Regions from separate parts of the Homo sapiens genome. Here region 2 is linked to region 1. The links are contacts of gene promoters, found by promoter capture Hi-C in human tissues and cell types (Jung and others, 2019). All regions are on one chromosome and are shown on one strand. The core of a region is centred on a gene start or on the middle of the fragment in contact, and the rest is flanking DNA. Distances in the headings are between cores, read along the strand shown. Region 1 holds the start of RHOA (ras homolog family member A). Region 2 holds the start of ATRIP (ATR interacting protein).

The links. Contacts are between HindIII fragments. The study calls those that stand out against the background at their distance.
Region 2: a fragment that was not itself captured here is called in contact with the fragment with the promoter of RHOA in region 1 in 1 of the 25 tissues and cell types used here (pancreas).

The regions. Positions count from the first base shown.
Region 1 is chr3:49,410,713-49,416,459 of GRCh38, reverse strand. It overlaps RHOA (ras homolog family member A), which reads left to right and starts at 4,484. Exons shown (of 5, transcript NM_001664.4): 1 at 4,484-4,640. It overlaps TCTA (T cell leukemia translocation altered), which reads right to left and starts at 4,037. Exons shown (of 3, transcript NM_022171.3): 1 at 3,820-4,037; 2 at 3,350-3,404; 3 at 1-1,640. The coding sequence starts at 4,033. The coding sequence ends at 1,598. RefSeq lists enhancers at 229-438, 3,825-4,234, 4,170-4,464, 4,363-5,337 and silencers at 4,305-4,604, 4,665-4,944, 4,955-5,044. The HindIII fragment of the contact is 6,127 bases long and covers 1,496-5,747 here.
Region 2 is chr3:48,444,535-48,450,344 of GRCh38, reverse strand. ATRIP (ATR interacting protein) reads right to left here and starts at 3,608. Exons shown (of 13, transcript NM_130384.3): 1 at 3,253-3,608; 2 at 175-308. The coding sequence starts at 3,499. ATRIP-TREX1 (ATRIP-TREX1 readthrough) reads right to left here and starts at 3,566. Exons shown (of 15, transcript NR_153405.1): 1 at 3,253-3,566; 2 at 175-308. It also overlaps a transcript of CCDC51 not described here. RefSeq lists a silencer at 3,304-3,663. The HindIII fragment of the contact is 4,318 bases long and covers 1-3,409 here.

The DNA of each region.
Region 1 (5,747 bases), core at 3,235-5,734:
TAAGCCACATCCTCAGTTGAGCCTGGGGTGAAATGTGAGATCCTGACTCTGTGCAGTAGTATTAGTGGGTGGGCCAGGGGCTGTGAATAACATCATCCTCAGTACAGCTGCAATTCCAGGGCCCCTCTACCACAAAGATGGCTTAAGCAAAGGCAGCCAGATGGAAGTATGATATCCAACAGGAAGGAAGTAGGCAGGGGTCACTAAAGTGGCTGGTGGCCCAGCAGATGGAAACAGAAGTATGGCCCCGAGGGAAGGAGGCAGGTCCAGGGCTACAGTGCTTTCAGGTACTGGTGTTTCTATAGGGGCATTTGCCACCCACATCTTTGGAAACTCCCCTGGCCTATTGTGACATGGCAGGGCTGCCTGGTTCTTGAAGGTAGAGAAAATGCTAGTGGGGAGGAGCTGAGCCTGTGACGTGCATTTGTACCAGGTCCAGATGGGAAATGATGAGGCTGCAGGCTATGATGGGGCCACTGTGCACTAAATGCTTGGTACCATCCTATGAGGGGACAAGGTGCAGACCCACATTCCCATAGGCACTTAAGCAGTGGTGGATAGGAGGCTACCCCAGGGGTTCAGCTGTCCTTCAGGTAATCAGCTTACCCCCAAGAAGGACTGAGAGGAATATGAGTAGGACAGTTGGCAGATGACAATTTCCTTTGCCTGGCTCACGGGAGAAGTCTGGTTGGGCCAGGTATGTGGGTGTTTGGTGCCTCCATCTGGATAGTGCCAGCAGGTACACCACCCTGCCTTATACCTGAATGGCCAGCTAAATAACCATAGAGCTTAAGGTCTGGCTCAGGTCAGGATTCCCTGGCTCCTTGCCAACAAAGCAAAACCAGAGATTCAGAAAACTCAGGGCCTAGGAGAAAACAGACCTGCCTTACAAACCCCAGAGCTGGTCAACCTCAGGCTTCCTCTCAGGAAAAAAATTTTTTTTTTGAGATGGGTCTTGCTCTGTTGCCCAGGCTGGAGTACAACGGCGCAATCTTGGCTCACTGCAACCTCTGCCTCCCAGGTTCAAGCAAATCTCCTGCTTCAGCCTCCTGAGTAGCTGGGATTACTGGTGTGTGCCACCACACCCGGCTAATTTTTGTATTTTTAGTAGAGATGGGGTTTTCACCATGTTGGTCAGGCTGGTCTCGAACTCCTGACCTCGTGATCTGCCTGCCTCAGCCTCCCAAAGTGTTGGGATTACAGGCGTGAGCCACCATGCCTGGCCAACTCAGGAAAAATTTTTATGGGGTCACATCTTGGGGATGGAAGAGGGACAGGAAAAGAAACCTAAGACAAAAGAACTGATGGTCTTCCCAACCCAGAGGCTTCCTGAGTTATCACCCCTGAGAGAGGAAGAACACAATCTCTCTCCTTAAGGCACCCAGATAAGAGTACAGGCAAACTCTTCACTTGCCCAGTGCCTGGGTGAGGGAGCAGGCTTAAGAGGCAGAAGAGGCCCAGCCCTGTAGGCACTGGGTACTCCCTGCTACCAACCCTGAACCCCCGGCAGTTGTCCCTGAGGTCTGGGGAGTAGCAGAACCCAGTGTAGAAGCCAGCAGACCCAGTGATGCCCTTGGAGACCCTCTGCTGCCTTCCCTTATTCTCTGTGGGTTTTGAGAGGTTCGTTTGCTGCCATTTCCCTGAAAGTGATGGAGAGAGAGAAGAGAGAGTGGTTATTCCATGGGCAGAACAGTTGCTGAAATTGGCTCTCCCAAGCTCCTTCTTGGGGGCTGAGCTAGGCTCAGTAAGGTCACATAACAATCTAGACCTCTCTGCTGGTCTCCCACAGCCCACCCTGGGCCCAGCACCTTCTCCCTGCAGACTCATTCTTCTTCCTGGTTCTCCATGTTAGTACGGCATTGCCATCCTTCTCTAGTTTTTTTATTCTTTTTATTTATTACTATTGTTATTACTTTTCTTTTTTTGAGACGGAGTTTCACTCTTGTTGCCCAGGTTGGGGTGCAATGGCAAGATCTCAGCTCACTGCAGCCTCCACCTCCCGGGTTCAAGCAATTTTCCTGCCTCAGCCTCCCAAGTAGCTGGGATTACAGGCGCCCGCCACCACACCCAGCTAGTTTTTGTATTTTTAGTGAAGACGGGGTTTCGCCATGTTGGCCAGGCTGGTCTCAAACTCCTGGCCTCAGGTGATCTACCCTCCTCAGTCTCCCAAAGTGCTAGGAACAGGCGTGAGCCACCATGCCCGGCCTGTTATTTTTTTTGAGACAGAGTCTCACTCTGATGCCCAGTCTGGAGTGCAGTGGCGTGATCTGGGCTCACTGCAACCTCTGCCTCCTGGGTTCAAGTGATTCTCATGCCTCAGCCTCCCGAGTAGCTGGGATTACAGGCGTATGCCACCATGCCCAGCTAATTTTTTCTATTTTTAGTAAAGACGGGGTTTCCCTATGTTGGCCAGGCTAGTCTCAAACTCCTGACCTCAAGTGATCCGCCCATCTCAGCCTCCCAAAGTGCTGGGATTACAGGCATGAGCCATGGGGCCTGGCCTCTTCTCTAAGACAGAAACCTGGGCAGTGGCAGCCTTTCTAACCTCTAGCCCTAACTCTTGGACCCCTTTATCTACTTGCCATGAAGTAGGCATTTATAAAGGCAAATTAGATCAGACCACAGCCTTGCTGAGTTAGTCTTTCAATGGCTCCCAGGGTCCAACAAGCTCTCACGTTCAAGCTCCAGCATCACAGTCTTACCTATTCTAATATGTCACCCGTATTCTTCCCTCTTAGCCTTGCTCAATCCATTCCCTTTGCTTGGTACACTTTGTCACCCTGTGGCATTTGATCTCGGCTTAGGTGTCTTTCTTGGGAGAAGCCTTCCCTGACCACCCTTGCCCCATGCACTGCCGCCCTCCCCTAATAAATCCCTGGCTCCCCATGAGCAGGGCCCGGGTTGTCTTTGTTCTCTGGGCCTCGTGTGGCCCCTATCACGTGATAGGGGCCCAGAGATTATCTGAATGAATGCCCTGATTAGTGAGCGCATGTTTTGCAGAAGAGGAGGCTGACCCTGATGAGGTCAATGTGCTCAGGACAGAGATTACTGCCTTCCCAACTGAGGGGATTGTGCAGAGTGGAATCCAACAAACCTGTCATTTCATCTCTCTGAAATTATGACAATACCACCACCTATCCTACAGGCTGCTGAACAGCATGATGATGGACTGTCCAGACCTTGGTGTCACCCTAACTTGAAGCCTGAGCTCTACGTGCAGACTTGAAGCTTGCTGCAAAGGCCATTAAGCTGGTGGGCTTAAAGCCTGAGAACTCCCCTCTCTGTCACCAGCACAGGAGTGTCCTTGGAATGCCAAGCATGGGGTTGCGGTATGGACAGATTTACTCACCACGAAGGGAAATGCGTGGAGCCATCAGGCGTGGATCCATTCTGACCACCCAGACCTGGAGGCAGAAACACATCCAGAGCTGCAGAAGGCTGGGGTGGGAATCTGAGCAGGCATCAGCCCAGGTCAGGTTAGAGACCACTGGTATTGTTTGGTGAAGTCTGGTGAGGGTCCTAAGGGACTAATGGTATTGCCAGGTGAGAGTTCTGAGGAACAGATACAATGTGATGGGTGGACTGGTGGGGATTCTGGCGTAAAATGGTATGGTGGCATGAGTCAGGGCACAACGTTAAGTTCTCCCATCCAAGTACCTGGCTTAGCTTCCGAGGTCAGATGCGTTCAGGGTAGTAAGGCCGTGAACCAATGTTAAGTTCTGATGAGCCTCTTGCAGGATAGTGGGGAACCCAATGGTACAGTCGGGAGAGGGTGGGGGCGGGGGCGGCCAGCCCACGGAGGTTCGTAGGAAGCCTCACCTGGACGGTGATACAACCCGGTCACTGTATTCCCGTAGAACCCCCACGCCAGCTGGATGCCCAGGAGACTTAACACCAACCACAGCAGCAGCAGCTTGAAGAGGGTCACGCGCATGTCCTGCGCCTCCCACTCCCGCAAGAACTCGCTGCCCAGCGCGCCCAGCACCGTGGCCGGCAGAGCCTGCAAGGCCTGCCCAGACCAGGACTCCGCCATGACTGGCCCTCGCCCCACCCGGGGTACTGTCACCGTAGTCCCCACCACGCACGCGTGTGGTCTTCCGGGACCAGGCCCGTTAGTGCGCACGCGTAAACCCAGCCAGGGTGGGGCCTACTTCGCGTGCGTGAAGAGTTGGCAGTTCGGGGAGGAGTATTAAAACCGCGCACGCGCACCTAACCCCACCCTGCTTGCTTAAGGGATGAGTGACTCCGGGAGTACAAAATAGCAACCAGGTCTTTTATAGCCCCGGAGTTCCCGTGATGCCCCACGCGGCTGCAATGATTGGTTAAGGGTTTTGCTTTTAGGGCGTGGACGGGCTCCTGAGCAATAGTGGATGAGCTGTGAGTGCGCGCGCGTGCGCGGGGCCGCGACCTGTGCCGGCTCGAGCCCGCTGGGCACTCGGAGGCGCGCACGTCGTTCCCCGCCCTCCCGCCGCCGCCCGCCCTCGCTCTCTCGCGCTACCCTCCCGCCGCCCGCGGTCCTCCGTCGGTTCTCTCGTTAGTCCACGGTCTGGTCTTCAGCTACCCGCCTTCGTCTCCGAGTTTGCGACTCGCGGACCGGCGTCCCCGGCGCGAAGAGGCTGGACTCGGATTCGTTGCCTGAGGTGAGCGGAAGGGTTCCCTCCAGGCGCCGCGGGGCCCCAGGCCCGCCAGCCCGGTACTCTTCCGGCCGGCAGGCCGCCGCACCGCCGCGGCCGCGCCCCACCGGCTGCTCGTGGCCGAGCCGCCCCTGGCCCCTGACCCTTGACCTGACTCCCAGCCCGGGCCCCGCGCCCCAAGCGGCGACCCCGCCCGCGCAGTCCCCGGAAGCGCGCCCGGTAGTCTCCTGTGCCCCTTCCCCCGCCCGGCCGGGCCTGGTGGAGCCCAGGCTGCCCGCCTGCCCGCCCTCGGTCCCCGGAGCTTCCTCTCCCAGCGGCGCCGGGCAGGGCGGGGGCTTTGGGCCGGGCCCCGCGACCGCGCAGTGTAGCCGGCCGCTGAAAGCGCGCGTGGCTGTCGGAGTTGAAATGGGAAAGAAACTCTTTACAACTCCATTTTGCTTTTTACGTTTAACGAGAAACGACAATCACTGTTTCATATTGATTAAAGTCCAGTTACACTTTGGGTAGGTTTTCTTTTAATGCAGACTTGTTGGAGACTGTGTAAGTAAGTAAAAGATTGTATTGAACGCTTAGGGGTATGATCTACGGCCATACCACCTGGAACGCGCCCGAACTCGTCTGAAAGCTTTGGGGTCTGTTTTGAGTGGAAAAGGGGTATTTTCCATTTGGAAAAAAAAAACAACACACAAAACTGTAAATGATTTAAGCGATGTTGCATGAAAATAGATGCAATGTTGCTTAGTCGAAGTCGCTGTATTGATTAGGAATGATCTAAATATCTGTACCTTAGTTACTGATTGGATCTACAGTTACGGGTCGTCTTCATTGAATAGCGCTATTCGCATCCAAGTTGATTTGTTCACAAACCTTGTTTAGTAGTTTACGGTGGAAAATTGGAATCCTTTTTACCTCAAAGTTGGTTCCACTTGTGTTTTTTAATAGTTCTGATTTTAAATTTTTACCTCTGTTGTTGACTTGTTTGGTTCTGTCTTGAAGAAAGTCTTAAACGTTTCTTGCAGGTGTGTAAGTAGATATTTCACTCTGCCTTTCTGAAGGAGAAAAATTGAAAAACCAAAAAACTTCCATAATTTAAAATGTTGTATGTGGAGAGAA
Region 2 (5,810 bases), core at 1-2,500, 960 kb after region 1:
ACAATTTAGTTTCTTTCAGCCTAAACTTTCTGGTTTTCTTTCCCTAGTCTTTTCCCATGTCATAGGGATGAATCTAGACACTTGTTTTACAACTTTTGTATATTTTACTGTACAATGCTTTTAAACACGTAAGTGAATGAATTAGCTACAAAAACCACAAGTTAAGTCACTTACCTTTTCTTTAAGTTCTTTGTATTGTGCCTGAAGTACCTCTAATTCGAAATTATCTTTAATTGGAACAGTTTCTCTGTTTTTCCCTGAAGGATTTTTTGACATGCCATCTAATAATCTGTGGACCTTATGATCACCTGTAAAAAATAGTTCCATATACATTTCAGGACCCAATATTTTCCCACTTTTGCCAGAAAATGCTGAAAATACCCACTTTTTTTTTTTTTTTCTTTTTTGAGATAGGGTCTTGCTCTGTTACCCAGGTTGGAGTGCAGTGGTGTGATCACTGCTTACTGCCACCTTGACCTCCTGGGTTCAAGTGATCCTCCTGCCTTAGCCTCCTGTGTAGCTGGGACTACAGGTGTGTGCCACCATGCCTGGCTTTTTTTTTTTTTTTTTTTTTGGATTTTAGTAGAGATGGCGTTTCACCATGTTAGCCAGGCTGGTCTTGATTTCCTGTCCTCGCGATCCACCCGCCTCAGCCTCCCAAAGTGTTGGGATTACAGGCGTCAGCCACTGTGCCTGGATGCCTGGCTAATTTTAAAATTCTTTGTAGAGATTGGGTCTCCTTATGTTGCCCAGGTTGGTCTTGAACTCCTGGGCTTAAGCAATCCTCCTGCCTTTGCCTCCCAAAGTGCTGGGAAGAATTACTCTTGAGAGCAAAGCAGGGAAAGATCTAGTAAGCAATATAGATGTTTTTCAACCTAAGAACATGGTTCAAACTCATAAATGATCCTTCTTTTTTTTTTTTTTTTTTTTTGAGACAGAGTCTCGCTCTGTTGCCCAGGCTGGAGAGCAGTGGCGTGATCTCGGCTCACTGCAACCTCCACCTCCCAGGTTCAAGCGATTCTTGTGCCTCACCCTCCTAGGTAGCTGGAATTACAGGCGTGTGCTACCACGCCCGGCTAATTTTTATATTTTTAGTAGAGACGGGGTTTCACCATATTGGCCAGCCTGGTCTCAAACTCCTCGCCTCAAGTGATCAGCCCACCTTGGCCTCCCAAAGTGCTGGGATTACAGGCGTGAGCCACCACACCCGGCTGAAACTCATAAATGATCCTTCTAAAACAACAGATCCTATTATTCTTTCCCTATCCTTCATCCAATTCCAAGAGTCTCATCTAAAGCCTGAGGAGATCTCATTGGCCAGAACTCAATGATCTACTTATTATTCAGTAATAGTTACTGACCACATGCAATATGCCAGGCATGTTAGGCTCTACAGGTACAATAGTGAGCAAAATTGATACTTCCTTACACTCACAGAGCTTAAAAGACATTCAACAAATAATCACACAGATAAATGTAAAATTACAACTGTGATTAAGAACTGCAGAAGAGAACAAATATAGGAAAGCCTATAATATGACAGCAATCTGACTTAAGTGGGATGATTGGAACATTTCCCTAGGGAAGACTTGAAGGAGCTGAGAGCTGAAGGACAAGTAGGAATTAACCAGATGAGTGGAAATGAATGAATGAAAAGTATACTCAATGTACAAAGAAAGAACAATGTATAAAGTTCCTGTATTGTAAAGAAGCAGAGAGAATTCAAAGAATGTTAGTGCAGCCAGGACCCAGAGAGTGAGAAAGGGCCAAACCAGGCTGGGCCTTTCAGGCCATGTTAAGGATTCTGGTCTTCACACTAGAAGAAATAAGAAATTATTAAAGGGCTTTCATTAGGGGTGTTCATGGCTGGGTGCGGATGGCTCATACCTGTAATCTCAGCACTTTGGGAGACCAAGGCGGGTGGATCACCTGAGGTCAGCAGTTTGAGACCAGCCTGGCCAACATGGCGAAACCCCGTCTCTACTAAAAATACAAAAATTAGCCAGGCATGGTGGCGGGCACAAGTAATCCCAGCTACTTGGGAGGCTGAGGCTACTCGGGAGGTTGAGGCAAGAGAATCTCTTGAACCTGGGAGGTAGAGGCTGTGGTGAGCCAAGATGGCATCACTGCACTTCAGCCTGGGTGACAGAGTGAGACTCCGTCAAAAAAAAAAAAAAAAAAAAGGGTGTTCACGTATATCTGTGTAAGACACAGCCAGATTTGAGTTTTGAAAAGATCACTCAGAATGTGATGTGAAGCCTCACTTGTAGGGAGTCAAGACTGGAAATGGGAAACCAATTTAGCAGACCATTGTTCAAGAGAGGACTCATGGTAACACAGATCAGGCAGCTGGTAGAAGCAATGTGAATAGGATAGACTCCAGAGAAGGATTAAGAAGGTAAGCTTGACATGCTTTCCAAATAAATTAGATGTAGAGTCAAGGAAAGGGGAAGAGTCGCTTTGTGCCACTGGATGGAGAGTCGTGCTAGTTACTTCCTTGTGGAACATCTGGTCATCATTCTCTGAATGTCTGCTTTGCCGGCACCATGCTAGAAGTGCTGGAGGAGGACTGGGTTTCCAGGAAATGATCGTGTTGAGTTTAAGGTGCCTTGAGACACCCAAGTACAGATGCAAGGTGCACTCAAAACATTTCTCTTTCTGGGAGTCCTCAAGACTTCACTCACTCCTCAACTAGAATGTAAGCTCCATGAAGGACAGTTTTTGTATTTTGTTCATTGTAAGGTCAGCTGCAGTTCCTCACGTTTGGGCACCTAGCACAGTTTACTGGTTGTATAAAAGAATAAATTTATTTCATCTCTTGCCTGTGTCTGGCTCCTCCCATGCTCACACTGCCCAAGGGAGACAGTGGGCTTCATAAGATCTAAAGCCGCTCAAACTTGTCACAAGAATGGGTCCCCATGCATGGGTAGTGATGGTTCTGATGGTGGTGGTAGGTGTGTTCCAAGGATCTCTGCTTAGAACCAAGAACCAAGTGGCCTAAACTTTAGAAAATAACGTAAAATGTCAACTTAGCCTTCTGTGTTTCAAATCGGCTGTTTGACCTGGCTAATGCATTTCCCCCTAAAATCAAAGGACCTTCTGGAAGACAACCGCTGCTTAAATCAGGGTGTTCCCATATTTTAAAAAGGCGAAAAGGCAGTGCTGGCCGCGAGGTTCCGAAGCCACAGCCATCAAGGGGATCTGGCGCGGTTGACAACTCCCTCCGAGCAAAAGGCCGCGAGGAGCACTCACTGGACACGTCCCGAGCCGCGGCCGGACATTGGCTCAGGGCCTGTGACGCGAGGGTGTCAAGCTCCTCCAGGTCGTCGGCAGTGAAGTCCCCATGCGCGCCGAACGGGTCGTCAGGGTCCGGGGCAGCGGCTGCGGAGAAGCCCCGGGCCCGCTTGCTCGGGGGGTGCCCGGTGCCCGGCGGCGGGCCGGGGCGAGGCGCCGGGGGCTCGCTCCGCCTCTTGCTGCCTGGCGCGGAGGTCCCCGCCATGCTTTCCGCTCACCCCAAGTATCCGACAGCGCCGAGCTAGACTTGCCTGCCGCCAGGCCGGAGAACTGGACCAACCGTCCGCGCGCCGCCGCTTGCCTCCGCCGCGAGTGCCCCGCCCCTGGCCCAGGGGCCAATCAGCTGGCAGGCGGAGGGCGCGGAGGAATGACGAACGTCCGAGCGCGCCGCCACACCCGGCCCCGCCCGGTGTTTAGAGGTCCACGGGCGGGATTCGGCAGGTTTGCTGCAAGGACTCAGTGCGGCGCGACCCGTTACCGGAGAGGCGGGCCGGAGGCGCACCAGCTCCGCCGCGCTGGTGGCTTTGCGCTCCCTCCCTGGCATTCCGTGGAGGAGGGCCGCGCAGGAGCAGCCTGCCCTAGCATTCACGCGTGTTGCGTTTGAGTCGAGCCAGGCATCATTCAGGGATGTGGTCTCCGTGACCTCGCTTTCCTTCTGCCGCCAGACCCACCTCCCACAAACCCCTAGGCTTTCTTGAGGAGAGTGGAATTTGTTGGGTGAGGAGTATGAATAGAGCTGTCGTGTGCAGACATCTTCGGGTTTAGTGAATGTTTCACATGTGTACATTTGAGGTAGGCCCAGGGAGGAGGAAAGTCCAAGGAGGAATGATGTTTGGAGCTGTTCTTGTGTGGGAGGGGGTGGGAGCTGCTCAGGCTGTTAACATCCATTCCTCTGAGTGCTGGACTGTTTTTTTTTCCTAAGCTCTGGTTGTATAGAATAGGGCTCAGGAGGTCAAGGAAGTCCCCCTGTAAATGGCACCTGCGCTGTCCTACAAGTTGAGTCAAGTTAGCAGGATAGAGGGGTAGGAGGCTGGCACATAAGACTAACACGAGAATTCTACATTGAAAGGGAGGCCACACAAAGGCCAGGTAAGAGTTACCGGTGGCGAACAGAGGTAAAGCTTCACAAAGGAGCAGCAATTTGAGGTGGGCTTGCGTGCCTGACAGATTTTATTGGGCAGCTGTGGTGTGCAGAAGTTAGCCGCAATAGAGAATTTGGCAATGGAGAGTAACAGGAGCAAGACTCTTTCAGCCTTACCTGCTCAGTGCCAAACTTCACCTGTGAGTGTCCTAGGAATATTTGTGAAAGCATTAAATGAAAAGAGTAAATGAAAAAGAGAGTGCTATCAGGGCCTATAATGTCTAAGGAGTTTAAAATTTTTTGGAGCAACTGGTAGTCTCCGTCAGATAGCTTCCCAAGTGTTGCATGCTTAATTGCTGCAGGACTCTGGTCCTGGAAAGAGACAGGACTGTTCATTTGTTAAAGAGGGATAGGTTCCACCAAGTAACTTGCTTTCAGGAACAGTGTGAATCACTGGTGCTCAGGTTTGTTTTAGCAGCATACGGCTGGGTGCCAGCTAGCAAGGCCCCACAGGGAATGCCTGAAGCCTACTGAAGGGTGCTACTGGCTGTGCAACTTTCTGGAGAGGACCAACACAGGCTTCCCCCTGCCCCCTCTCCCGCGTTAATATCTAGTACATTAATCATGAAAGTTTTCAATATTCTAAAACCTAGTTTTGATTTAGCAGTCTCATAATGGTTCCAGAGCGCTCTTCGACAATATTCTCAGAGAAAGCTGAGCATTATTAACATAATTGTATTAAGGGCCTGGGAGGGAAATCCAAATACTTGTGCTTCTGAATTAATTTTTTTTTTTTAAATACAGGGTCTTGTTCTGTCTCCCAGGCTGGAGTGCAGTGGTGTGATCTTGGCTCACTGCAGCCTCGAACTCCTGGGCTCAAGTGATCCTCCCACCTCAGCCTCCCAAATGGCTGGGACTACAGAAGTGCACCACCACACCCAGCTAAGCATTTTAAAACATATTCAGCACACATTATGGATGGTCTCTGTCTTTGCATTTATTGAGGGGCAAGCGGTAGGTATGCCTGGGACTCCAGTCCTGGGCAGCAGGAGGTAGAGTGAGCCCCCATTTTGCCTCACCCCCAACCCCTTGCCTGGCACTGGCACCCCCTCCATCCACCAGCAAGTGGGCTGGGGCTTCCCGCAGCTGCTGCCCTGGACCTGTTTGGTGCGCATGGGGACTTCACTGCTAGCAACTTGAAGGATCATGTAATTTGCCCTGCCCTGCCTCTTCCACAGTAGAGAAGTTCCTTGACAACAGGAACTGTTCCGTTACATACCCCAGTGCCTGCATATAGCAGACGCCTTACATGAACAGATGAACAAGTCTCATCAAAATATACGGCAATTTGGATGTGACAACATAAAGATGGGTTTTCTTTTAAAAGCACAAATTCTGGTCAGGCACAGTGGCTCATGCCTGTAATCCCAGCACT